6 separate regions of the Homo sapiens genome follow, and all the other regions are linked to region 3. Evidence: promoter capture Hi-C in 16 types of primary human blood cells and fetal thymus (Javierre and others, 2016). All regions are on one chromosome and are shown on one strand. Each heading gives the region's core, a stretch centred on a gene start or on the middle of the fragment in contact. The rest is flanking DNA. Distances are from core to core; before and after follow the strand shown. Region 1 has its middle 77 kb from the start of ASTN2. Region 2 holds the start of TLR4 (toll like receptor 4). Region 3 holds the start of BRINP1 (BMP/retinoic acid inducible neural specific 1). Region 4 has its middle 63 kb from the start of ASTN2. Region 5 has its middle 77 kb from the start of TLR4. Region 6 has its middle 97 kb from the start of TLR4.

The links. The method cuts DNA at HindIII sites, captures the fragments that hold promoters and counts their contacts. A CHiCAGO score of 5 or more calls a contact.
Region 1: a contact is called between a fragment that was not itself captured here and the fragment with the promoter of BRINP1 in region 3, in 4 of 17 cell types (M2 macrophages, M0 macrophages, M1 macrophages and 1 more). The highest score is 15.9, in M2 macrophages.
Region 2: a contact is called between the fragment with the promoter of TLR4 here and the fragment with the promoter of BRINP1 in region 3, in 4 of 17 cell types (M1 macrophages, M2 macrophages, endothelial precursors and 1 more). The highest score is 11.3, in M1 macrophages.
Region 4: a contact is called between a fragment that was not itself captured here and the fragment with the promoter of BRINP1 in region 3, in 3 of 17 cell types (M1 macrophages, M2 macrophages and M0 macrophages). The highest score is 7.0, in M1 macrophages.
Region 5: a contact is called between a fragment that was not itself captured here and the fragment with the promoter of BRINP1 in region 3, in 4 of 17 cell types (M2 macrophages, M1 macrophages, erythroblasts and 1 more). The highest score is 11.4, in M2 macrophages.
Region 6: a contact is called between a fragment that was not itself captured here and the fragment with the promoter of BRINP1 in region 3, in 4 of 17 cell types (total B cells, M1 macrophages, M2 macrophages and 1 more). The highest score is 8.2, in total B cells.

The regions. Positions count from the first base shown.
Region 1 is chr9:117,490,120-117,494,812 of GRCh38, reverse strand. No RefSeq gene overlaps it. Among named protein-coding and RNA genes, the nearest start is that of ASTN2, 77 kb to the right of the region's middle. The HindIII fragment of the contact is 5,715 bases long and covers 1-4,649 here.
Region 2 is chr9:117,701,741-117,706,424 of GRCh38, reverse strand. It overlaps TLR4 (toll like receptor 4), which reads right to left and starts at 2,022. Exons shown (of 3, transcript NM_138554.5): 1 at 1,860-2,022. The coding sequence starts at 1,952. RefSeq lists enhancers at 137-1,336, 1,452-1,952, 1,923-1,992, 2,003-2,052, 1,953-2,453 and 1 more. The HindIII fragment of the contact is 5,259 bases long and covers 1-2,881 here.
Region 3 is chr9:119,367,780-119,371,938 of GRCh38, reverse strand. BRINP1 (BMP/retinoic acid inducible neural specific 1) reads left to right here and starts at 2,504. Exons shown (of 8, transcript NM_014618.3): 1 at 2,504-2,883. RefSeq lists enhancers at 1,540-2,060, 2,061-2,583, 2,584-3,105. The HindIII fragment of the contact is 7,485 bases long and covers 1-4,159 here.
Region 4 is chr9:117,475,494-117,479,921 of GRCh38, reverse strand. No RefSeq gene overlaps it. Among named protein-coding and RNA genes, the nearest start is that of ASTN2, 63 kb to the right of the region's middle. The HindIII fragment of the contact is 3,111 bases long and covers 1,598-4,428 here.
Region 5 is chr9:117,625,013-117,629,277 of GRCh38, reverse strand. No RefSeq gene overlaps it. Among named protein-coding and RNA genes, the nearest start is that of TLR4, 77 kb to the left of the region's middle. The HindIII fragment of the contact is 7,902 bases long and covers 1-4,265 here.
Region 6 is chr9:117,605,849-117,609,938 of GRCh38, reverse strand. No RefSeq gene overlaps it. Among named protein-coding and RNA genes, the nearest start is that of TLR4, 97 kb to the left of the region's middle. The HindIII fragment of the contact is 3,809 bases long and covers 878-4,090 here.

The DNA.
Region 1 (4,693 bases), core at 543-3,042, 1.9 Mb after region 3:
AATTCATTCAAAATTTCAGCATTGGCTTTCTACTCCTTCATATAACCATGTTTCCTTTTAAAGGCTTTAATGTTAAATTAATTTCCCCCACCTCAAATCTCCAAGTGGAATGGTCATTTTAGGATCCTGTGTCTTATTTATTTCTAAGCATCCTTTACCAATAACATGCAATTCAAACAAATGTAGCTTGGAAATGGTGCCAGCATACACTTGAAAACTGGCTTTGTTTGTGTGACCAGAGACAGAGCTTACTGTCTTCATTTATAAAATGGAGCTAATTCTCCTATCCTCATAGTCTTGTTTTGAAGATATAGTGAGAGAATATCAAGTGCCTGAGCAGTAAGTGTCAACAATAAAATTTCATTTCAAATCTCTCTTATGCATGAATCACAGTATCTTGGAACATTATGGATCTTAATCTGCCATAGGAAATTACATACAGACATAAGAAAACTATATCAAAACTGAAAAAGGAAAATAAATGTCCCTAAATTCACAATAATCTTTCTTTTTAGGTTATCCTGGAACTTCATTTCCATAGAATTCTATATACATTTCAGTACATTCTTCCTCAAGGATAAATATAACAAATTATTTACTCCTCAGATGGCCAAGGGTGGCCACACATTGACATATTTGGACAGAAACTGCCCCACATCTGCTAAGATTTCATGGCCTCAGATTAAACAACAGTAAAGGAAGTTAAGGCTTGGGGACATTGGCTTCAGTAAGGACAACTGACCAGTCAATGCAAAGTGCCCAGTGGCCTCAGAAAGCTCAGACATGGTTTAGCAGGCCTTAGGGTACCATCCCAGCAGGTAGCATTAATTTAGCCACTTGGGGATGTTCCCAAATCCAGGTCAGCCTTCTACTGATGGTGGGACCACAGTGAGTGGTTTTGCTCTCTGGGAAAAGAGAGTAGTAAGAGCTAGGCAGTGTTGTGTATCAGAGTGCTCCTCTAACTTCCATATATTGACAATTCACCTGCAGCTATCGTTGAAATGCAGATCCTGATTCAGTAAGTTTGGGGTGGGCCTCAGGCACTTGCACTCCTAAAATGCTTTCAGGTGAGGTTGAGCAGCTGGTCCATGAATTGCATTTTGAATAGCAAGCGTGTAGTAGAAGGGACATTGATTTGAAGTCAGGTAGACATGGGATTGAAAATCTAGCTCAACCATTTATTGTGTAACCTCAGGCAAGTCACTTAATTACTCTGAGCCTAACTCCTCACCTGGAGAATAATTTTATCTCCTAGGATTGTTGTAAGGATTAAAGAAAAAATATGATTGTAAATGCTTAGCTAATAATTCTAGCATGATAAATCTTAAAGAAAAATTTCTACTACATCTTATGCTTCTATTTTCGCCCGTCCCTTTAGCAGCTAGTTTGATTGGTCGTTCCTCCAAGAGATTGAATTTGCCATGTTCACCAGTGGGCAGGGTTACTTCCTGCTCTTATGGGGTAAGCATATCTGGGTACATTTTGCCTCCTTGGAGAAAGATAAGCAAGTCTGTATACCTAGATCGTTTCACTTGTGCCTACAACTGAGTAACTCAGGTTACAACCTACTTTGCAGATGCAGCCTCTTTTCATTTACAGAAAAGGATTAAGTAGACCAGCTTAGATGTCTAAGCCTCATATTCCAAGTAGGCTTTTACCAAAATTCATCATTACAGGTTATTGGGTGTTGGTTAAATTATTAATAAAGAAGAGCTTTGTCTCCCGTATGTATCATTTCCCTTGTGTATACAGTCACCTCAGTGAAGAGCCATCCAGGTATACAAGCAGCAGGATAGACTCCGAGCATTTACCCAACTCCTGGCTTAAAATATTTTAATTTTTTCCAAACCTTGCCCTGATCTCTTCATTGTAGCTGCCATCATTCCACCACCACCACTTCTGCTATCATCATCATCATCACCACCACCACCCCAGAAAGAGCCAAACCCAATTTAATTCAATTCAATTTGAATTGAATTTACTGGGTCTCTGAAATATACCGAATGCTGTGGTTCTGTCCTCTGCATTTGTGTCAATGGATGGCCCGGGTTCATTTGAACAGTTTAAGTGGGTTGGACATACTTGTACTAGGCACTGGGGATACAATGGGGAACCAATCCCTGCCATCAGTTGCTCATAGGGATGAAGAACAATGGCCTAACTCAGAGACTAGAGAAAACGTGGGTCACAAGGGGTGATGCTCATTAGTGAATCCAGTGTCAGAGGGCAAGAGGGGAAGGCAGGGTTGCATACAATTACATCTCACTGAGTTCCCCCCTAGTTAAGAGCTGGAGTAGGGGAAGGAGGGTGCTGGCCATGGATACAGGCAGCACCAGGAGATCTGCTCACACTACCAACAGAATTCTTATCTGGTTTGGAAGTTATCTGAAATTAAAATCATGCCTGACATATGAGGCCCTGGGAGAAATGCATTGTGCCTTTCTTACCTGAGATTATCTCTGTCTAGTTCCTGTGCAATAAGGAGGCTGACAGGGAAAGCACGGTTGGTACCCTTTTCTCCCTGGCAGGAAAGTCATCTTCCTCTAAGCCATGGCTTTTGGAGAAAATTTTTCTCGGGGTGGCATTCCTGCTAAGAAAGTGAAACACTGGCTTTTGTTTGGAAGAGGTCCTATCTGTATCCGGACCTGGAGTAAATGTCATTTGTCCTGGTCCCTAAGGCTTCACTTGAAAGTAGCATGGTGGCTCTTTATGGCACCATGCTAGTCATTTATACATATATTTTCTTATTCTTGCAAAAACCTATAATATAGACAAAACTATGAATCCTGCTTTACAGCTGAAGGTACTGAGTCTCAGATGGTACAGAGACTATTAAACACAAACAAACTTTGATTCTAACTAAAGTCTTTTAACTCTGGCTCAATACGGAAATGACAAACTTATCTTTCCAACTTTTATTTTGGATTCGAGAGTACACATGCAGGTTTGTTACATGGTATATTGCATGATGCTGAGGTTAAACTTAAAGGGCCAAATAGCAAATATTTGAGGTTTGCAGGCCATAAGATCACTATAGCACCTACTCAACTCTGTCATTGAAGTGTGAAAACAGCCACAAACAATACATAAACAAATGAATTTATAGCCGTGTTCCAGTAATGTCCCATTGTGTTTATAATACAGGCAGCCAGCTCATAGGCCACAGTTTGCAGACGGCTATTGTAGAATGCTCTTTGGACTCCCGCCCTTGATACCTGGTGATAAGTAAGGTAAACAGGCAAATAAGCATTAGTGACCTCTGAGTTCTCATTCTGTCCAACAAATACCTTGTGACCCAGGCCTGTTCCCAGGTCCTAAGTCTCTCTGTTTTATTTATGTCAGACATAGCCCACATCAGTCATTGATTCTGCCATATATTTTTATTTGGGCATGGACATCACGGTAGAACATAGATCACACACTCCTTACTTAGCTTCATGGTACAACCCATTATTTAATTTTAAGATTGTATCACATATATAGAGAATTTGAGGTCCATTGCATTAAATAGTGGAAGTAATCTTTATTCGCAGTTTCTAAAAAATACATGCTTTTTTCTACTGGGCAGTTTTTCTATCAACCCTCTATAAAGGCAAAGAGAAAAATATTAAGTCGTAGCTCAGGGAAAGCATTTCTGCTATGGACTTAGATAATGTGACTCAGGTATTGCCTTTCAGGTAAAAACTGGAGATGAATGGATAGTTAGCATGTCTATTAGACTTTCTCTATCAAACATCAGATAGGGTAAACGAGCCTCTGAGAAGTGCTGACTCTCATTCGATTCACAATCAAATACTCTAACAAGGACTTAAAGTGCAGATAATCTCTATTGTGGATTAAAGTAAAAGCCATAGACTTTGGCCGCTATGTGATGCAGATAGGTAAAATGCCATTCTTTTGGAAACACTTAAGAACTGATTATTTATTGCGTTCTCAGGGAAATAACCAAAGCACTTTTGTACAAATGTGATCAGAATATCATTCCCTGTGGGGTGCTTTGGCTGCAGTTCTCAGAGGCCACCCTCATTAAAAACTAGTGGATGCTGGAATCAAGAAATAATGCAGATGTGAGAGTTGACTAGGAAGCCCAGTCAAGGTGTAGAGGGAGAAGACTTGAGAAGCCACCTAGAATTAGTTTTATAGTTTATGCTCAATTTCAATAATATGGTGCAAAGATGGACCAGCCTCACGCAAAGGGCCAGTAAAGAGAAAAAATTATTTGTTTTGTTAAATATATGAACATATTCAAGTCTGTTAATTAGTAAAACCAACTCTTAGTCAAGAAATCTTGATGACAGTACATTCCACCAGTAGTATATAAGTATCTTACATACTACAAGATAGTATCATAGCCAACTTCTCTGTGAAAGACATTCCCTAGAATCAGGAATCCAACTATCCAGTCATTCATTTGCAGATTCATACATGCATGTTTTTATTCATTTATGCATACAAGCATTCATCTATTCCCAGATTAATTTGCATAGTAGCCTCCCAAGATATATTTGAATGCATAAGTACAGGAATTCATTTATTCATCCATGCACAAAGTCATTTATTCATGCATCTATGAAGCATTGATTCACTCTTTCATTCATGAATTCTTAAATGTATTCATTAATCTGTTCAGCAAATTGCCATTTAAAGCTTACCATGCAAAAACTGCCAAATTAAGCTGTGTGTGGAATGAAGA
Region 2 (4,684 bases), core at 773-3,272, 1.7 Mb after region 3:
CCTTACCGATTCCATTACAAAGGGAGAGAGAGAAAATAAACAAACAAAAATATAAAATGTTGTGCTCTAGAAAAAAAAATATTAAGCAGTATAAGGGGATTTGAGGCAAATAAGTGAGGCTGGAGAGCTCTACATGGGGCAATCAAGGAAGACTGCCCTGAGGAGGGGACATTTAATCAGAGATCTGAATGGAGTGATTAAAGCATGAAAAGGACTTGGGCTGCACTGACCAATACGGTAGTCACTAGCCATACACAGTTATCAAACACAAGAAATGTGAATAGTGTAAATTGAGAAGTGTGGTAAATGTAAAACATATACTAAATTCCAGACTTAGTACCAAACAAGGAATGTAAAAATATCAATAATAGGTAAATATATATTAAAATTTTAAACATTATTTTAAATACGCTAAGTTAAATAAAACTATTATCGAAATTAAATTCACTTGTTTCTTTTTTTAATGAGGCTACTAAAAACTTTAAAAGTACATATGTGGCTCACATAATATTGCCAATGGATAGCACTGATCTAGCATTCTAGGTAGAAGAAATAGCCAGTGCAAAGGCCCTGTGGTAGAAAGCTGTTCTAATGGCAATGGAGAGTTATTAAAAGTTTTTAAGGAGAGTAATTTGTTAGATTGAAGCCTAAGGAAAAATAATAACAACAAATGCAAGTACATAACAAACAAGAACGTGCAGAATGAATTAAAGGAAGAAGACTGGAATCAGGAAAGCAGTTAGTGTGTAAGAGTCAATGCCAGGGGAAATGAGGGCCTGCCTTACAGTGGAACTAAGGGGATGGGCAGGGATGGACAGGCTTCAGGGACTGACAGGAAAAGGTACATGGGGAAAAGAAGTCAAGTTTGGCTGTGGTTTTATCTCGCAGTGAGCCTAATTAGAAAATCTATCTCCATTAACCTAACAGCAGAGGGATACAGAGAAGAGGACAAGGAGGAGGACTATGGGCAGGGAATTGAGGGAAGGGATGGCTTCAAGATAATGAATTAGTCTTTGCTAAATATTACTTGATTTTCTCCTATATCCTCAACTTCAGGACTGCAGCTGGCTTTTTCTCTCTTGAGTTTCTGACCCTGCCTCACTGTAAATCATTTTCTTAGCTGTTCGGCTCTACTATGGGTTTCTAAAGCAACTGTGAAGTCTGCGCAGGGGAAAAACAAAAGAGATCCATCATGAATAAGATTACCAACCAGCTGATTGGTATTTCACTAAGAAAGAAACTGTTGCATTAGCTGACATTATACATATTTCCCTCTTGCTTTTTTCTTCTCTCTCTCTCTCTTTTCCTTTTTCATTCTCTTATTTTTTTCATCCTCTGGACTAAACTATATTACTGCATACAGAAGTCTGACACCCACTTAGAAAGTTCTTTCTCTAGAGACACACACACAAAAGCCATCTTTTTCCTGAGATTGAAAGGAGCAGGGTGACTGCTTGAAGCTGAGTGTAAAGACCACCAGTGGGAAGAAATGACACTGAAGCAGTCTGCTTACTCTCTAGTGAAGAAGGTATTATAATTCTCTTACAGATGCGAAAACTAGTCTCAGACAGGTTTGATAATTTCTTCACAGAGCCACAAGGTAGCAGAGCAGGGACCTTAAGCAGATCTATGTTATCTCATGCCCCTGTTAGCACTCAAAATTTCCAAATGGAACAAACCCCCAATGGCTGCCTCTAGTGCCCTGTAACAATGAATTATTTGATCTCTGTGGCTTCTTGAGTCTTTAAGGTAATTTAACTCTTTTTTTTTTTTGCAAAAATAAACAAACCAGGGCACACAGTGAGAAGTTCTGGGCAGAAGTGAGGGAAAGTTCAGAGGAGCTGACTCCAGCCACATACCTCCACGCAGGGCTCCCAGCTTTCTGGTCTCACGCAGGAGAGGAAGGCCATGGCTGGGATCAGAGTCCCAGCCAGGCGCGAGGCAGACATCATCCTGGCATCATCCTCACTGCTTCTGTGAGCAGCAGTGGCCCTGTGAATGCGTGGCTCGCTATCACCGTCTGACCGAGCAGTTTCTGAGGCACTGGTGTCTTCTCTTCCTCGAGCCGCCCCACAGCAATTGGTGTATTCAAAGCAGTTCTGGGCTAAAGGGTGAGAGGAAGTGAAAGCGGCAACCTTAGCATTCTGGACTTTTGTTTCTCTAATAGTTATCTCTTTTGTCACAGGAGAGGAAGTTAGAAGAAGAAAACGCCTGCAGACCAGTGGCTAAAGAAACAGCAAGAGGAAGCTAGTTGGCTTTTATCCCAATTAGTCATCTGACCTCTGCCTGGGCTTGGTGAATTTAGGAAAACAATCAGGTTCTATTAAAATAGCCCTTGTAACTCTCTAGGATGACGGTGATTTTCCAATTTTGTTTCAGCTGTGGAAACACTATTTGTATTAGTTTGCTGGGGCTGCCATAAGGAAATACCACAGACTGGGTGGCTTAAACAACAGACATTCATTTTCTCACAATTCTAGAGGCTTCCAGTCTGAACTCAAGGTGTCAGCAAGTGTGTCTGAATTCTAATCTCCCCTTCTTATAAGGACACCAGTTATGTTGGATTAGGGCCCACCATAATGACCTCATTCTACCTTACATACCTCTTTCAAGGCTCTCTCTCCATATACAGTCATAGTCTGAGGTAGAGGGGTTAGGACTTCGATATGTAGGTTTTTGCAGGACACAATTTGGCCCGCCCCTTCTTGTGAAGAAACTCACATACAAAACTGAAAATAAACCTCAACTGAAACACAGTTTGAAAAGTACAAGAAGATTGGGAAAAGTCTGGGATTTCAGAATGGAATATACTGAAGTTCAGATCTCAGCTGGGTGACTCATGGCTTTGAGGCATTGGTCAAGTCATGTAAACCGCTAAGCTTTACTTTCTTTCTTTTCTTTTTTCATTTTCTGTATTATGGTAAAATCACATAACATAACATGACATAACATAAAATTTATTATCTTGACCATTTGTATGTGTACAATTTAGTGGCATTAATTATGTTCATATTTTTGTACAATCATCACCACTATTCATTAATAAATAACTCCCCATTTCCCCTTTCCCTAGGCCCTTGAATCTATGCACTACTTTTGTCTCTATAATCTTGACTACTCTAGGCAGCTCTTAGAAGTGGAATCATACAGTATGTATCTTTTTGTCACTGGCTTATTTCACTTTGCATAATGTCCTCAAGGTTCTTTTCTGTGTAGTATAGATCAAAGCCTCCTTCCTTTTTAAAGCTGAACAATATTCCATTGTATGTATAGACCACATTTTGCTTATCCATTTGTCTGTTCATGGACACTTGCATTGTTGCCACACGTTAGCTATTGTGAATAATGCTGCCATAAACATGGTTGTACAAATATCTCTTAAAGTCTCTGTTTTCAATTCTTTTGGATACGTACTCAGAAGTGAGATTGCTGGATCATGTGGTAAATCTATTTTTAATTTTTTGAGCACCCACCATATGATTCTCCACAGCATCTGTACCATTTTACATTCCCACAAATGGTGTACAGGAGTTCTCATTTTTTCACATCTTCACCAACACTTATTATTACTTTCTGGTCTGTAAAATGTGGTAATCACTTTTAATCATAGCAGAAGCTTGCATTTATAAAATGTATTAAAATAAAGATACGCAATGGTAGTCAAATTATACAAACCTACCAACCTTTAGTTTTCTGGTCTTTAAAACGAAGATAATCGCATGTGTTTTGAATTACTGAATTAAGCTAACTTACGTAAAACGTCTAGTCTAGAGCATCATCATTACATTCCATAAATGAGAGCTATGATGAGGATTGAAAATGTGGATAGAATGAAGATGATAATATGTATCTCAAAGTATTGTATTGGGATTAAATGAACTGGCATTTGTAAAGCTTTTAGGACAGTGTCTGGAAAGTAGCAAGTGCAATGTAAGTTTCTGTTAAATAAGAACCTGATTTAAAACAGGAATATTATGCATGCTAAGTCCTAGATAGTTCTACTGTAATATCCTCCAAGCACTTCCAATCCAACGTGTCAAAAACCAAGCTGTGAGGGACCATTTTGTGGTGGACTGGGCACAAACTCTTGTAGACTCCATCAACACACCAGTAGAGTTAAGATAAAAACAACCTCCATGTCAAAGCTTTGCTCTGAGTATTGAGATTATTCATGTAAAGATTTTAGAGCAGTGCCTGACACAGAGTAGGTGCTCAATAAAGTTTAGTTCCCTGGAAAGTTAATGGTGTTTCACTTTGACATAGTCATCCAAGGTGGAAATCTCTTTGACTTTATTTCCCTTACTTCCTCATTTCTCATGCTAAACATGTATTAACCCAATTGTCTTCTTTTCTGTGTTCTTGATGTTCTGGCATCTGGGAAGAGACTGCACTTACCAGGGCTAGTTAGTTCTAAAAAATAGCAAAAGATTTGCTCTGGAGCATGCCTTATGCACACTAAGCAATCCAGAGCCCTTCCTCTGAACCACCTCCTCTACCTGGCTTTTACACCCAAGTAGACACCGTTATTCAGCCCTAATCATCACAGGTCCAGGTACCAGACAACTAGAGACAGACCCTCTACCCCAGAGCCCACTGAGGTTATTCAAACTAGCCAGTCCTATCCCTGCTTACCCTGCCTTGCCTTGCCTTTTCTGCAGTAACAACAATAAAAGCTTGTGCCTAT
Region 3 (4,159 bases), core at 1,255-3,754:
ATCACCCCAGGGCTTCCCCATTATTCCCAGAGGATAAAGATTTTGGACTTGGACTTGGGTGTTGAATTCCTGACTCCATCACCTACTAGCTATATTTTGGCATATAGCTAGTTTGGCATATACTCAAGTTTTTCAAGACTCAATTTCCTATGCCATAAAGATGGGATAGTATTATCTATTCATACTGCAAAGTATTTTCAGAACTGTAAGCAATAATATTCAGAACATTGCAAATAAAATGCTTGGTGCACGGTAAAAGTTCAAAATTCTCTCTCCTCTTTCTCTCTGTGTAGTATTGGTTGGAACTAGAAGAGCTCTTTTTTTCTTTAGGGAAATATTGACTGGGTGGGGTGAGGAAGAGAAAGACTGGACAGTATTCCAAAGCATTAAGTCCCCACTTTCTAAGGTATGTAGACCACAACCCATCTTGGGAGATTGATTACAAGGAAAGGGTTAAGAAGAATCAGTCAGAACTTTGGTCTTCACCTGAAGTTGCCTGACTACGTTGTCTCAGATTGATTTCAGAACTGCATTATCAGCAGGGCAGCTGTTGCCTACTAACAGTCATGGAAGTAGATCTCAGCTGGGGGATGATGGGGAAACAAAGAGAAAGATAGGGACGAATAAAGGAAGGAATGGGGCACAGACAGAAAGAGAGAGAGAGAAAAGAAAGAAAGGAGGAGAGGCAAGAGATAGTGACCTGGGGTTTCATACCGCGGTGGGTGGGAGAAGGAGTGTGTGTGGTGGGCGTATTTCTTCGTGGTCAGAATCAAAGTCAGAACTGACCTGGGGAACCTGTGTTCAAGACCTGAACCTGGACCAGAAGCCAAGGGAAAGAGAAAGTTGCCCAAGAAAAAAGGGAGAAATTTCCACCAGGCGAAAATAGAAATCGCTGACTGGGTTTGTGGCTGGAGAGCTGTCCGTGGTGCTGACTCCTCCTCATTGGGATTCCAGTGAAGGCTGAGAAGCTCTGCACTGGCTGCTCCTCCTCTCCCTTTCCTCTCCCCTCAGTCCTGACCTTCTGAGACCCAGGATCATTCTGGCTAGCTCGATGTCTTCTCCTCTCTTTCTCCCTTTCTCTTTGTCGATTAAATAATTTTTCCCGAGTTCCCAGTTCATCACTCAAACATTTCTCTTCCATTTTGTTTCAAGACTCCTCTTCCTCCAATTAGTTCACTGGCTCCTAGATTGTTCTAGGCCTCCCTGGTGGTCACATCTCTCTCTTATCATCCTTTGAATTAAAAAACAAACAAAAAACATACAATGGCAATCATAAAAGCAGACAACATGCACTGAGCACTCACTAGGTGTCAGGGAGCAGTCTAAGTGCCTTTGCATACATTAACTCATGAGCAGTCTAAGTGCCTTTGCATATATTAACTCATTACAATTCCACATCAACCCTATTAGATGGGTAGATATATTATTATTCTATTAAACAGACAAGGAATTGAGGCTTAAGGGGTAAGTGATTTCACCAAGACCAGACAGCTACAGGACTCCAACCTCTCTGGAGCCTGCACTTCTACTGAATCTGGCTCTTTTACATATTCCAACACCTTTTCCTATGACTTCCTGCCCCTCCATCTGGTAGCCTTAATGCTTTCTATTCTTGCCTAATCTTCAGGGGACTAGGGATCTGCATTGCTGATTTGGTTTAAATCAGAAGGGAAGCAAAGTAAACAAACATACCAAATGTGCGCTGTGTGGGAATTATCATACGAGGGCTTTATTTTCTGCTTCAGGAAGAGGCCCTATGTTAGCAGCCCCAGCCTGCATTCAGGCTGATTGCAGAGTATTTTGCTTTTTATTTTCATGTCTTAGTCCCTGTACCCTCGCCCCTTCCCCGCCTCTGGTGGTCTCCAGAGAACTTCGTGTCCCCTCAGCTTCTCCCTCCTACATCCTGCCTACGTAGAGAAGCTCTTGCTTCATTCTGGGAGGTTACGTGGGCTCTCGCCTACACACCGAGAGAAACAAACAGTGTCAAACACTCACAGAGAGACGCGCAGACACAAACGGACCCACACGGGCAACTCCCGAGACAAAACCCACACTCGATGGATCCACGCGGCCGTGGAAACACCTGCCGCCCCAGAAACACTCAGGTACTCGCGACACACACAGTACAGTCACGCTTAAGGGCACCAGGATTCCGGGTTTGCGCGTATGCGCGGTCCCTTTGGATGCTCGTGCGCATAGACACAACACCCTACACGCCCCAGACCCACGAAACTCCCTACGGCTCAGCCCCAGCCCACCCGGGCCGCCCTTCCCTCGAGGCGGCCTCCCGTCTCTCCTCCTCTCGCTTCTCCTCCTCCTCCGCCTAAAGATGTACAAAACACTCCTCGGAAGCAACCCCGGCGTTCAGCTCCTCCCTCCCCGCCCCCCGGCCGCCGCTCCCCCATTCATTTTCGGCCGTCGCCGGCTAAGTCCCTCCCCCGGCGTAGCCCGGCCTCCGCCGCTCCCCGCCCGGAGACCGCGGCGCACTTGGACTTCCCTCTCCATTCGCCAGCCGCCTCGCTCCCGGACCCCACGGCTGCAAACTGATCTGGCGCGCGGGGAGGAGGAGAGCGCAGGCGAGCGAACCCGCGAGAGAGGGAGAGAGCGAGCGAGCAACAGCGAGAGCGAGAGCGAGAGAGCCGGGAGGCAGAGGGAGTAGTGACCGCCTTCCGGAGCCGGGATTCATGCCTGTCCTCGGGACCAGCGAAGGGGACTTTACGGCTGAGTATGAGCCAGGCTGCTAGGAGCCAGGTACCCCCACGCCTGCAGTCCCCGCGCCGTGCCCGGAATGCGAGCTGCACGCAGGGCTCTCCCAAGTTCCCACCGAGCCGAATAAAAAGCGTCCTCCCGCAGCTCTCCGCCAAAGACGGACATTGACTCCAGGTAAGGCGGCGCCGGGTGCAGCGCCCCGCAGCCCCGCTGCCCTTGGACCCGGCCCCGGGCCGCATTCGGGGCGTCCCCGCGCTCCTCTGCCCCTCCCCCTACCGGCACCCTTGTCCGCTCTTCACCTGGCCGCCCCGCCGCCTCCAAGTCTTCTCCAGTTCTAGGGAGGGGGTTCCTGTGCCTGGGGCTCAAAGGGCTAATTGCGGGTTTGAGTGAGTGGCGTGTGTGTCCCCGCGCGCTCCCGACGTGTGCACCATGGTGGGAACTTGATGTGGTGCTAGTGTGTTTGCGTGTGCGGCGTCGTTTGCGTTTGATGCGTGTGTTCGTGGTGTGTGTGTGTGTCCGTGTGTGTAAGGGAGGGGTGAAGAGAGAGAGGTCCTATAACCTACTTACGGCGCGATGTGTGTGTGCATGTTTGTACGTATGTGTTTGTATGTGTGCCCTCGTGTGTCTTTTTAATTAGGTCTCTCCAGCTTACACGGAATGGGACCCTTACTATAGGATCACGTAGTCACCGGGAAACCCGCTGTGGACTTCCTCTTGGGGCTCTGGGCTTGGGGTTTGGGGAGGATTATGGGGCTGTAGATGGCACCTTATTTAGCCCAATGTTGGTACGCTTGAAGGAAAATTCCTCCAAACGGTGGAATCCTGCTACACTGGGACCCACAGCTTAATATGAAAGAGACATGGCCAACCCCCGAGGCAAATGAGACGCTGTCACTTTAAATTCTACACTGGGCAGACTCCAAGATTCTGATGGGAATTTGGAGACACTGGATAGTGGGTGACAGAGAAAGGGGGAAGTCAGCGGTGGGCTCCTTATCTGGGGCTTGGAAAGTCTGGGATAGGGATTTACCCTGCATCCCCGTTTGCAATCAACAGAGCCCCTCCGGCTTCTGTTGGTTTTGGGGAGGATCTGGCAAGTTTGCATGGATCCCCCTCAGGGGAAAGGAGAAAGCGTCCTCGGGGACTTGCTCATCCATCACAGTTGCAAAGGGTCTCAGAGGAAATTTCATCTGGGGCGGCTGTGGATGATATGGAAGGAGATGGATGGGGCACTTTCCTAAGACAGATTCGTCTTTCTTTCCCCATTTCAGGCGGGGAAGCCCCCAGAGAGTCTCTCCCTAAATATGCCTCTCCATGGCTCCCCTGGAGTTAGGGGGATATTGAGAGAAGGCAGAGAGGTGGAGAGGGAGAGAGAGAGAGCAAGAGCGAGAGAGAGGGAGACAGAGAGAGAGAGTGTTTCAGTACTGAGGGAGATCTACAATTTGAAAAG
Region 4 (4,428 bases), core at 1,904-4,403, 1.9 Mb after region 3:
ACTTCTGATATCTTCTTTATGGCAGAAACTGTGGTAGGTTTTGGACATTAAATAGTTATTAAATAGAACACGAGAGCATGATCCTCATAAAGCTTATGATCTGGTTGGAGATACTGACTGCAAATAATTGTGATCCAGGGTGACAGATGCTTTTGTTGGACAATTAGGGTGGTGTAGCAGCACGGGGTGGGAGGGTGCAGTCTGTGTGCAAAATCGATGTCATGTGGAAAAATCCAGATGAGAAAGAACATGACACATTGGGAAAACCACAAGTGGCTCAGATTGGCTGGAGCTTACTATGGTGGTCGTAAAAAAAAATGGGGAAGAATAATGATGATAAGAGGTGAGTCTGGAGTTGTTGGCAAGGGCCTGATCAGAGGCTTTTTGAGCCATGTTGGGGAGTTTAAGAATTCTTTTGAGGGAAATAGGGAGCCACGGAGGGGTTCTCAATGGGGGGGGGCTATTTAGATGGATATTTTATAAAGTTTCTTCTGGCTATTGTGCAGCTGTACACGATTAAATGAGAGAAGACTAGTGCTATAAAATAATTCCAATGATAACAGGTGCTTCCCTAGATGAGGAAAGTGGAGCGGGCATGGAACCATGTACAACCACATTTATTGAGTTTTGCCTCAAAGTTAAAAAACAAAATATTTATTGTTCTCTCTCTCTCTACATACATCATTGGATTTTGTTTCAGAAAACAAAATGGTAGCCCTATAGTCTGGGCACTTGGATCCCTAAATGAGATCATATTTCCATCATTCTTGCTTATCTTTTTTGTTCAGACCTAAAGCTTCAGTTTAAACTTCTACAAATAGAACATGTATTAGCCCATCTACTATTATCTAAATATCTATATAGTGCATTATTGTTAGTAAGTTATCTTTGCTTCTAATTTGATCTGCAACATAAACCTGTGAGTCCTTTTTAATTTTTGGAAATCAAGATTCAGAGAGGGTTGGCCATGTTCATGCAGAAGGCAAGATGCCTGGTCTTTTGTCTCCAAATTCTATGTACTTGTCACATCTCCACACTGTTACCCACTCTTTTCTCGGTGTGTTAGAAGAACATTGGATGAGCCAAAGTTAGTGAGGGAGGCTGGTGTGAAGGTTTGCAATGGTTGCAGTGTTCTGCTTGCATCTTTGTGTCCCACCTAAGCTCAGGAAAGGAAAAGGAGGAGGGAAGCAGAGGGAGGATGAAGGAGAAATGCTGTGACACTTTCTAACATTGCAGGGTAGTTCAAGAGGGGTGCTAGAAGACTCATTCCCCAGACTCACAGCTTTTGAGCAGCCTTTGAGCTGCCTGAAGCTGCCCTACACTCAGTGACAAGTCGTTTTTAGAAGATAGGTATAGGAGAAAGAGAGCCACTATTGCATTAGGAAAACACTAAGTTGAGTCTTTCAATTTCCCCATCTGCACATGAGGACACTAATAATACTTATCTCCCAGGGTTATAGTTAGATTATTGAGAGGATTAAATGAAATAATGCATAGAATGCTCTTCTGAATAATTGTGTAGCTCCCTGCCTCTCTTCACTTCTTTACTCAGATGGCTCCTTTCAGCAAGGCCTTTCCTGTCCATCTGATTTAAGCTTCAAACACTACTTCCTTTTGTCCTTCCTGTTTCCCTTCTGGCTTTATTTTCCCCACAGAACCAACCTCCAACTAATATAGTAAATATTCTCCTTGTTTATTCCCGTGTCTACACCTTTCACAGGAAAGCAAGGGTGGCTTGTCTGTTTTGTTCATTGCTGTATCTCTAGTGCTTGAACAGTGCCTAGAACAAAATAGGCAAATAGGTACAAGTGGGCTGAAGAACAGATAGGTAAACAATAAGTGAAAATATATCATTTGTTTGTTTTGCATTTTCAGAAGTATTTGTTATATGATCAAAGTCTTAGCCCAATTTTTTTTACTATGTAGTACATGAATATTGTCTCACTAAAAAGAAATAAAAAATTAACACTATGAGCATAGAAAATAAAATATACAAATGATTATGGCCAAAAGGACCTTTATAAATCTCTCTATTCCACTTCTTCGGACAAATAGCCACTGTTTACTCTTAGCTGTATAAACCATCATATCTATCCTATGCAGTCACAGGTGTATTAACAAGTATAGTAATAAATATGAGAACACACATTTTCATAATACTATATGCCAAGCACGGTTCTAAAAATTTATGTGTATTAACTCACTTAATCTCTACAGCAATGCTATTAGACAGGTTTTATTTCTACCCAAAATGACAGGGAAGGGAACTGGGGCATAGTTGCTATTTCTTTAATATATAAATAGAATCATATTAAATCTATTAGCCTACAATGTGCTTTTTCCATTTCAAACAAGTTGTAGGTAAGTACACCTTGATATTTAAGGTCAGAATCCATTTATTCCTTCCATAAGCACTTCAGATTTGTAGAGGGCTTTAATTTCACCCCAGCCACTTACTGGTTTTGTAATCGTGTCTTCAGTCTCCACCCCCAAGGGTGCTGAATTGAATGATGTCGAAACTCCTTCCCTAACCATGCATGATCTTGCTCTGCAGCATCTCCCAACTCCTCACTTACCCTGGGATTGGGTGCAGGCAATCTCCTCTATTCCCCACCCCTGAGGTTAATTCCACTGATAAATTCCCACAATGCCCTTTGCTCCCTTTGCGTCTTTTATTTTTTTTTTCTTGGAGACTGAGTCTCGCTCTGTCACCCAGGGTGGAGTGCAGTGGTGCCATCTAGACTCACTGCAACCTCTATTTGCTGGGTTCAAGTGATTCTCCTGCCTCAGTCTCCTGAGTAACTGGGATTACAGATGTGCACCACCACGCCCAGCAAATTTTTGTATTTTTAGTGGAGATGGGGTTTCGCCATGTTGGCCAGGCTGGTCTCAAACTCCTGACCTCAGGTGATCCACTCGCCTCGGTCTACCAAAGTGCTGGAATTATGGGCGTGAGCCACCACACGTGGCCCCTTTGTGTCTCTTATTAGCCTCAGTATTTGATTCCTTCCTCCCTTACACCAAGGAATGAATCATTTTCTGCTAAATGGGAAGGTTGGAAGGTGGGGAGATCATGACTTCAAACATTCTTTAAAATCAGCAGGTGCCCAAGGAAGTCAAGCAGGGAAAGCAGTTGCTGCGATTTCTGCTTATTTGCTGTTTTCAAACCAAATGTTCAACCTCTTTGAGCCTCCAGTTTCTCGTATGTTAAATGATAGTAGCTCCCATCTTACCACATCACGCGTTTGAGGTCTATTATTTTGGGAGAATTTTCATAATCATGAGTTATAACAGTCCCTCACACTAATGATTTGCATACTGTGATTTGCAACTTACACAGTCCTTATTGAAGAGAGTTATTTCCTAGACTTCAAATATCAGAGGTGAATCTTATTATGGATAAATAGATCGAGTGGTTTCCAAACTCTCTGCTTCACCCACTCTGGCAAGAAGAGTCCAGAAGGCATAATGGCAGTCCATGAACTCTTTTCAATATTTCAAAAATGCTAACGGGAATCATATATCTCCCCAATAAAATCAGACTTTAATTGCTTTTGGTGGGAATTATATCAACTAAAATTGGTACTTATTGGAAAACTAATTATCCTCAAATAAATGTAAGTTGGTAGACATAACCTCTTGAAATACTGGGAATCTATGGAGAGAAAAGTCACAGAAGGAAGACTTAGTAGTGAAAAGATGGAGGGTCTAGACCACAGGGACACCTACATTTTACAAATGAACCCCAAGAAGCAAGTTGTACCCTGAAATTCTTACTTCATCTTCTTTCCCACTCCTTCATTAAATTAGGCCTCATCTGTCCTCTACTGGTATTATGTATGCACTAGTCCTGGCTAGTTTCAGTCTGTCCTGCCCCTTGCAATCTGCCCTTCAAACTGCAGAATTCTTTTCTGCAGTTAAAAGGCCGACAGAGTGGCCTTTTTGGTATTCACCTTTCCTATTCCCCGATGAATTGATGCTCTCTGATGACTCCTCATTGATGTTAAAAGAAAGGCACACTCCTCTACCTAAAATACAAGATTCTTCATGCTCCAGCCTCACCATATTTTGAGATTCCCTATGCTCCAGCCACACCCAATGATGTTTGGTTACTGAATGCACCAGGCCTTTTCACTGCCAGTCTGTGTCTTTCAACACGCTGTTCCCTCTACCGAATGCCATTCCTCTACCTGTTCACCTGCTAACTTTGACTTTCCATTTTCAGCTTCATCACACCTCTTCCAGGAAGTCTTCACTGTCTGCAATCCTTTACTCCAGGATGGATCAAGTGCCTGCTCTGAGCTCTTCATTCCATGCTTCATTCTTGCAAGCACTTCTGTTACTGCATTTCTATCTTCTCAGTAGATAAGGAATTGTTCAATGAACATAAATTCCCCTGGCAGAGCCAGGAGTAAAATGCGAGGTCTT
Region 5 (4,265 bases), core at 718-3,217, 1.7 Mb after region 3:
GCTAATATTACCCTCTTTTTTTTAGGTGAGGAAATACAGAAGCGCTCAGAGTGGTAGATTTTGCTTACACTGATATAACTAGTAAATGGCAGATCTAGCATATGGACCCAGATATATTTCTTTCTTAAACCATTTCTGTTTTGTGACACATTATAAATGCCTTCAATTTAGTCATTGTCAAACTTTTATTTTATTTTCAGATGTTTAAAAAATTCTTCAAATCTTCCCTAAAACTCTTATAAAATGTGAAATTTTTAAAAGCCAAGGAGTTATCAGTAGGCTCATATTTCTGGGAGATGAGAGAGGGCAAGCCTGTGTTACCTGAACCTGAGATAGAGATGAAGAATCTCTTTCATTCCATTTGGAGGGAACACACTTAGATCCCAGGGAAGAAAGATGAGTATAATTCTATGAACTGGGCCCAAGTGTGATTTCAGCTTCATGTGGAATATTGAGAAAGCTGAGGCTAGAGAACTGTAAACATTTAATCTTAATTTTAGTAGGTGAATACATCAGTTTATCTTTGTTTCTACTCTGCTTTTTGAATGGCATGGTGAGGGGCAGATTGGGCATCACATAAGATTTGCATCTCTACTTAATCACTGGGTGAGCTTGATCTGATCATGCTAGGTTTCTGAGTCTGTTTTTTTCTTTCATTTGTAAAGTAAGACAAAGTCTAATCAAAGTATGTCTAATCATACTATAATAATGCAACTAAAGGAGTAAGCACACCAGTGAATTCATACCATCTCCTTATTATTTGATTGTTCTTTGCCTTCTCAAAAGGCTATTTCTTCAGGATGCAGCTGTTTTGACTCTCTTAGGAGACTACTTTCAAGTAAGCTCACTATGGCACATGCTATGGTTTCCAAGGAAGGGTTTATGTGGCAGAGGCAATGGTTAGCAGTAATAAAACAGGAAGACCCCTTAGTTTTCAGCACATTATTTCACAGATAGTGTTAAAAATCATTCTGAGCTTATAATTGAAACACTAGTTCCAGGGATGTAATTTCAATCCTTATATTTACTTAAGGACCCCAAGGTGAAGTCTCTTTGGATACAGATGATTTTATTCTTAAACAGAGAAAATAATAATATCTGTATAACGGGAACATTATGGACATCAAAGGAGATATTAGTAGGCAACTGCAGAGTTAACAGATCTTGGTTTTAATCCTGATTTTACCAATCTACAGTTTTGACTTAGCCCCTTTGTCTCTGTGAACCAACACCCACACCATCAAAAATAAGAGGCTTGCAACTTATGGTTAAATTTCCTTCTAGTTGATATTCTGTAATTCTGTGACTTGAACAAGGTCTCACCAAAGTAGATAAAGTCCAGGTTGTCGCCCTGCTAGTCTGGTGCTTTCTACTCTACATGTTATTTCAGCTCAGAGATTTGTACCTTGTGGCTTTAAGGAAAGTCTTCTTTTGAACAAAAGCTGCCTGCAATGGTATCTCCAAATTGCAACCCCTCTTAGATCTTGTGAAGATCCCTGGTTGATCTGTGTCTAAGAAAATTCACCTACCTGCCCAATCTGTGGTATTCTTTTGTCATGAAGTTTATCAGCTTTTGATTCATACTATACTGATAAAGAAAACATATTACTTATGTGTCAAAGGAGCTAGTTTCAAGTACCAGATATTCTGTTGTGTGAACTGTGGCTAGACTTCCACTCAAAAATCAACAACAGCAACAATAACAGATGCTAAGAGAGCATACATTAAAAATTCTTAGGCCTACCATGCAGGCAAAGTTAAAGGGGTAATGACTTGCTGATGGCACAGAAAATAGTTCAAGCCCCAAAACCCAGACATTAAGTTTGGGTGACATGGGTCAAGGAATGGCAGATTTATTGCCTAAATTAAGTTATTCCTGGGAACTGATGTAGCTAGAACTATAATATCCTTCAGTTTTAGTTTCCTTTGACCTGGGAAGCATATCACTTGCTCTGGTTATGTTAGTCAATGAACCATGAGTACACTTCTATGCTATGTAAAAAAAAATAGTGTGGATCCATGCCCATCACTTGAGTTCTTATCTCAAATAAATCATTGTCTCTACTTACAGAAACATTAGGAGAATCAACGCTTAAGCAAATGAATAAAATCCATGTTATCATTTACTCCCATTCTCAACCCTTGGCCTGACTCTGTGGTTTAGGTTAGTTCACTGAAATTTTTTTACCTTCTGTACTAGTTTACTACAGTACAGTTTCTTTACCTAATGTACAAGTTTACTGCAGATTAGTTTACTTCTAATCTGCAGTTATTATGTGTTCCCTACTCAGGATCTATTCATCTGGATTCAGCTATGCCTGAAGTCCAAATCTGGATTTTTTTTCTAAGTACATGAGCCATTTTATATATATTGCTTTCCCCAGGCCAGTTTGAGCTATATTCCTATTACTTACAATTGGAAGTGCATCTGCCTAAAGGAAACATTATCCACATTCTGAAAATAATAAATAATATTTGATCTTTCTAATTCATAGGAATGATAAAAATATCTGATAAATTAACAGAGCTTGATCACCAGCCATGGTTACAGCTCCAGAAACTATAGTGAGGGATGAGAATACGATTAAGAATATGACAAAGCTCTTCTCCGAGTAAAGCTCAGTCTGGTTGAGAAGATAAACTACAAATAACTACAATGTAATATTCCTGACCATAATTATAATAAAGTCACGAATGGAAATGTATTGGTTTTCCTAAAGAAGTTGGAAAAGACTCTACAGAAGAAGTGACATTTGAATTGAGTTAAAGGCGGATTAGAAGTTTTTCAGGTAAAGCAGTGGCTCTCAATCAGGGGCATTTTTAAAAGACTTTTATGGGTACATATGGGTGCCTATGTTCATGAGGTACATGGGATCTTTTGATACAAGCATACAATGTATAATAATCACATCAGAGTAAAGGAGGTATCCATCACCTCAAGCATTTATCCGTTCTTTGTATTACAAATGTTTCAATTATACTCTTTTAGTTATTTTAAAATGTACAATTAATTATTATTGACTGTGTCATCCAGTGGGTACAAAAATATAATTATATAGAATGAATAAGAATTAGTAGTATTTTTACCTCCCAGGGGATACTTTTTGTTGTCACAATTTGAGGTGTGCTATTAGTATCTAGTGAGACCAGGGAGGCTTCAAAAGGTTTTACCATCTATAAGCAACTCCCACAACAAAGAATGACCTTACCCAAAATTCAATTACTTTTAAGGTTGAGAAACTCTGAAGTAGAGATATTAAGACAAGAGATTCCGGAACAAGGTGAACATACAGCCAGGAGTCATGATTAGTTCAGAGTGATGGAAATGTCTCAATGCAGGGAAAATAGGTTGAAGACAAATGACAATTGATCTCTGAGTATAAGGGTTTGAACATCATCCTATAGGTGTGGGAAGCTATCAAAGTTCTTTTAAGGTTGTGATTATAAAGAAGGCTTTCTGAGTTTGAAATCTTGAAAGCAGAATCTTGAAACTTCTATAAGGTGACCCATTTCTTAACTGTGACTTTGAATGTGGGAGCCTACAGAGAATTTGTGAAAATACAGGTCCTTACAGGAGACAATCTTAGAGCACTGTGAGGCTAGGACATTCAATGGGTTATTAACATGATTACTGAATTTGTCCACAGTGACGCTACTGATACTGATATGAAGGAAACCACTGGATTTGACTTCCTTTTGAGAATGTTTATTGGATTCTGAGCCATGCAGAAGCCTTCCCCACAAATCAGCATTTTCCATCTCCCCTGTGTCATTTCTTCCCTCTCTTTGGACATTCTGCCAATTTGTCTTGGAAAAATTAAATACTTTCATAATCAGAGGCCAGTGACAGGTGCCAGATTGACAACTCTGGAGGAGGACACTTGAAATGCTCATGTTCCTCATACTGAAATGACAAAGAGAAGAGTTATGTGTGCTGAAAGATTTATTGTCAAGCTGTCCTCAGGCATCTCTTTGGTCTCCAGAAAGTGGTTTAAAATTAGACACAATCTGGAAGCCTTTTAGAGCCAAAAAGAAGTGTGTCATTGTGTTGATGTTCTTTCTTCTTGTTAGCTTTGGTGGAAGCAAACTGGAGCTTGTATTCAAACACGTTCTACAAGTATACTGAAAAGGTCGCACTTGACATTCTCCCACCTCCATTCTGTGCCATCTTCTACTTCATGGAGTCACTGAATTTTAGAGATAAGAGAGATTCCAAAGATCTTTTAACTCACTTGTTCCATTTTACAGATGAGGAAAGTGAAAGC
Region 6 (4,090 bases), core at 1,533-4,032, 1.8 Mb after region 3:
ACGAGCCACTGTGCACAGCTAATTTTTGTATTTTTAGTGGAGACGGGGTTTTGCCATGTTGGCCAGGCTGGTCTCGAACTCCTGACCTCAAGTGATCTGCACGCCTCAGCCTCCCAAAGTGCTCGGAGATTACAGGCATGAGTCACCGTGCCCAGCCATATATGTCACTTAGTAAAAATAGGTATACATTTTTGTTGAGTATGTATCTAGAAATAGAATTGTTGGGCCATAACATTTGCAGTTCAACTTCCATATATTTCCCTAGACTTCTTGTTGCTGCACAACATCTTTGACAGAATTGAATATTGTCCGTCTTTTTCATTTTGGCCATTCTGGTAGATGTGTAGTAGTATTGCGTTTTGGTTTTAATTGTCATTTCCTTGATGAGCAGTAATGTTGAACATTTTTTCATATGCTCATTGGCCATTTTTACCTTCTCTTTTGAATGACCTTTCATCCTTTGTCTTATTGACACCCCAATTTTTAAAAACTTACCTACAGTCAATACTCATTGCTCATGAATTCTGTATTTGCAAATTCTTCTACTTGCTGAAATTTATTTGTAACCCCTAAATCAATACTAGCACCTTTTTTGTGATCATTCACAGATATGTGCAGAGTGGCAGACCTATGAGTAGTGTGATGGGCATGTTCCCAGCTAGGCTTCAACAAGGTTATACTCAACATTCTTGTTGCACTCTCATCCAGTAAACTTGTGTCATTTTTGCAGCATATTTAGTGTCATGGTTTTTGCATTTTTGTGGGTTTTGTTGGTGATTTTGCTATTTATTTGCAGGCACAGTGCTGAAGTGCTGTCTACTGTTTCTAAGAAAGCTGTGATGTGCTCTGCAGATAAAATTTGAATACTAGATAAGCTTTGTTCATACCTAAGTTATAGTGGCATTGGCCATGAGTTCAATGTTAATGAATTAACAATGTATATTAAATATCTTTAAACAAAAATACACATAAAACAAGGTTATATATTGATTGGTTGATAAAAATGTTGTGACTAGAGGCTTGCAGGAACCTAACCCTGTATTTCCCTTAGGAGCACTGGTTCAATGTCTGCTAACTCAATGCTTGCAACAGCTTTATAGAACACAGTTACTGTGAATAACAAGGATTAAGTGTACTTGACATACATTTCCTCACAACAAACTTGTGGGTTTGTTTGAGTAGTCATTATGTCCTCATTTTACAAACAAGGAAAGTGAGGAGCAAAGAAGTACCATAGAGTTTCTAGTGCTCCACAACTAGCTAATTCAAATGCAGTCCTCATCTTCAGGTGTCTGATTTCCTTACTATGAGTTTTCTACAGTAGATTGACCTTCATGTTACTCTCTCTCCAGCTATTTTTTGTGGACTCCATAATAGGTCTGTCTGGACTGAATACACATTGAAACAAACTTCCATGTCAGTTTTTCTTCTTGAAATTTCTCTCTAAAGTAATGGGTTACAGTCTGGTGGTTGGCAATTGGTTACATAAGCAGCAGCTAAACAAGCTAGTACTGAACTCCAAGGTGAGATCTAGTACAAACTTCATCATTTGTAAGTCATGGGGCTTTAAACAACTTGGGCACTCTGAGTCTGTTTCCTCTATTTAACAAACATAATAATCTCTGCCCACCTTTCCTCATAAGGTTGTTCAGTTCATCAGATTCAATCAAGACAGGACAGGCACTGTACTAGTACATGGGAAGATACAAAAGAAAATAAACACAACTGTTTGCCTTAGGAAACTGTCAGTGTATTGAAAAAGGCAAAGGATGTGTATAAATAACTATAATAAATAATGTGTCAAATGTAGGAAAAGCTAAGGGTTATTGAAAGAGATGAGAGAAATATTTCCAACTAGCATGTATCTGGGATGGCCCCAAATCAGAGAAGGCAAAATATGAAGTGGGTCTAGAGGTAGCAGTAGTAATAATGATAGCCAACGCTTATGGAGTGTTTAACCCTTTGCATGCACCCTATCATGTCCATCTACAAGAATGAATTATGCTTAAATTTACAAAATGGAGTAAACACAGCAGGGTTTCTCAACCTTGGTATTATTGGTATTTGGGGCCATGAAATTCTTTGTTTGAGGGCACTGCCTGGCACAGTATAGGATGCTTTTCGGGATCGTTGGTCTTTACCTAATAGAAGCCAGCACTGCCCATCTCAAGTTGTGACAGTTAAAATTGTCTCTAGACATTGCCAGATGCCTTCTGGGGTTAAAAAAATCACACTGATTAAGAATCAGTGCTACACTGGCCATCAGAGAAATGCAAATCAAAACCACAATGAGATACCATCTCACACCAGTTAGAATGGTGATCATTAAAAAGTCAGGAAACAACAGGTGCTAGAGAGGATGTGGAGAAATAGAAACACTTTTACACTGTTGGTGGGGCTGTAAACTAGTTCAACCATTGTGGAAGTCAGTGTGGTGATTCCTCAGGGATCTAGAACTAGAAATACCATTTGACCCAGCCATCCCATTACTGGGTATATACCCAAAGGACTATAAATCATGCTGCTATAAAGACACATGCACACGTATGTTTATTGCGGCACTATTCACAATAGCAAAGACTTGGAGCCAACCCAAATGTCCAACAATGATAGACTGGATTAAGAAAATGTGGCACATATACACCATGGAATACTATGCAACCATAAAAAATGATGAGTTCATGTCCTTTGTAGGGACATGGATGAAATTGGAAATCATCATTCTCAGTAAACTATCGCAGGGACAAAAAAAACCAAACACCGCATGTTCTCACTCATAGATGGGAATTGAACAATGAGAACACATGGACACAGGAAGGGGAACATCACACTCTGGTGACTGTTGTGGAGTGGGGGGAGGGGGGAGGGATAGCATTAGGAGATATACCTAAAGCTAAATGACGAGTTAATGGGTGCAGCACACCAGCATGGCACATGTATACATATGTAACTAACCTGCACATTGTGCACATGTACCCTAAAACTTAAAGTATAATAATAATTTAAAAAAAAAGAATCAGTGCTACATAGTAATCCATGTGGTGTTCTTAGAAAGGTGTGGTTCTATGAGCGAGACAGGCTTGAGTGTTCAAATTCTACATCACCTCGTCCATTTTGAGATTTCTCTCATTCTATGTCCTCAGCTGTAACATGGAGGTAATAACAAGAATGATTATAAGTGAATGAAATAAGATATGCGAAGTGCTTTTTTTATGCAGAGTAGGCAGAGAAACATTGAGTATTATTTTTATTTAACCATTCAATAATCTAAAAGGGATTATCTCTCTCTCCATTTTTCAGAAGATCCAACTGAGCACAGGGAGGTTTAATGATTTGCCAAGTGTCACTTTGTTCTCAAAGCACAAAGGCAAGTGGGTCTGCCTGGATTGCTTTCACCAATAACACTGTTTTAATAAACAGAGGTGGGTTTGTCAAGCAGAGAGGGAAGTGGACTATAAATCAATCCAGGAGGCATTGTATAGGGTGGTGGCCAATAACTATTGTGAGGATCAAATGAGGTATTTTAGCTATAGCAAAGAGGGAGGTTTTTAATATTTTCATTAAGGAGATAACTTTGACTAGGTGGACAGCAAAGAAGACATGAATGGAGAAGAGTATATTTAAATTAAAAATTAGAACAAAATATAATTTTGTCAACTCTCATAAATATTTAATCATTTACAAAATAACTCTAAAAACATGCCTAGAGGTTTAATGAGTCACACCTTCAATTTTGGTCCCTCATCTCTGTCAAAAATGGATAGCTATTGTTAGCACATTTTATTTATTCTGAGATACCAAGCAAGTAAAAATGGAGGAAAAAATAAAGACTTTATTAAATGAGGCAATATACAGAACAATAGGGAATTTTGCTTTCATTTAAGCAAAAATAGGAATTCCTTGCATGTTCTGGAATGCTAAACTCTAGTCACAACTATGCTGACTGCAAGCTCTGTGACTTTGGTCACCTCTCCCAACCCCACCCCCATACCTCAGTGTCCCTGCATGTAAAATAGAAGGGCAGAATTGGACTAGATGCAGTTGAGTCCCTTTCTGCTCTGACATAACAAGAATCCATTTCCCCACACTT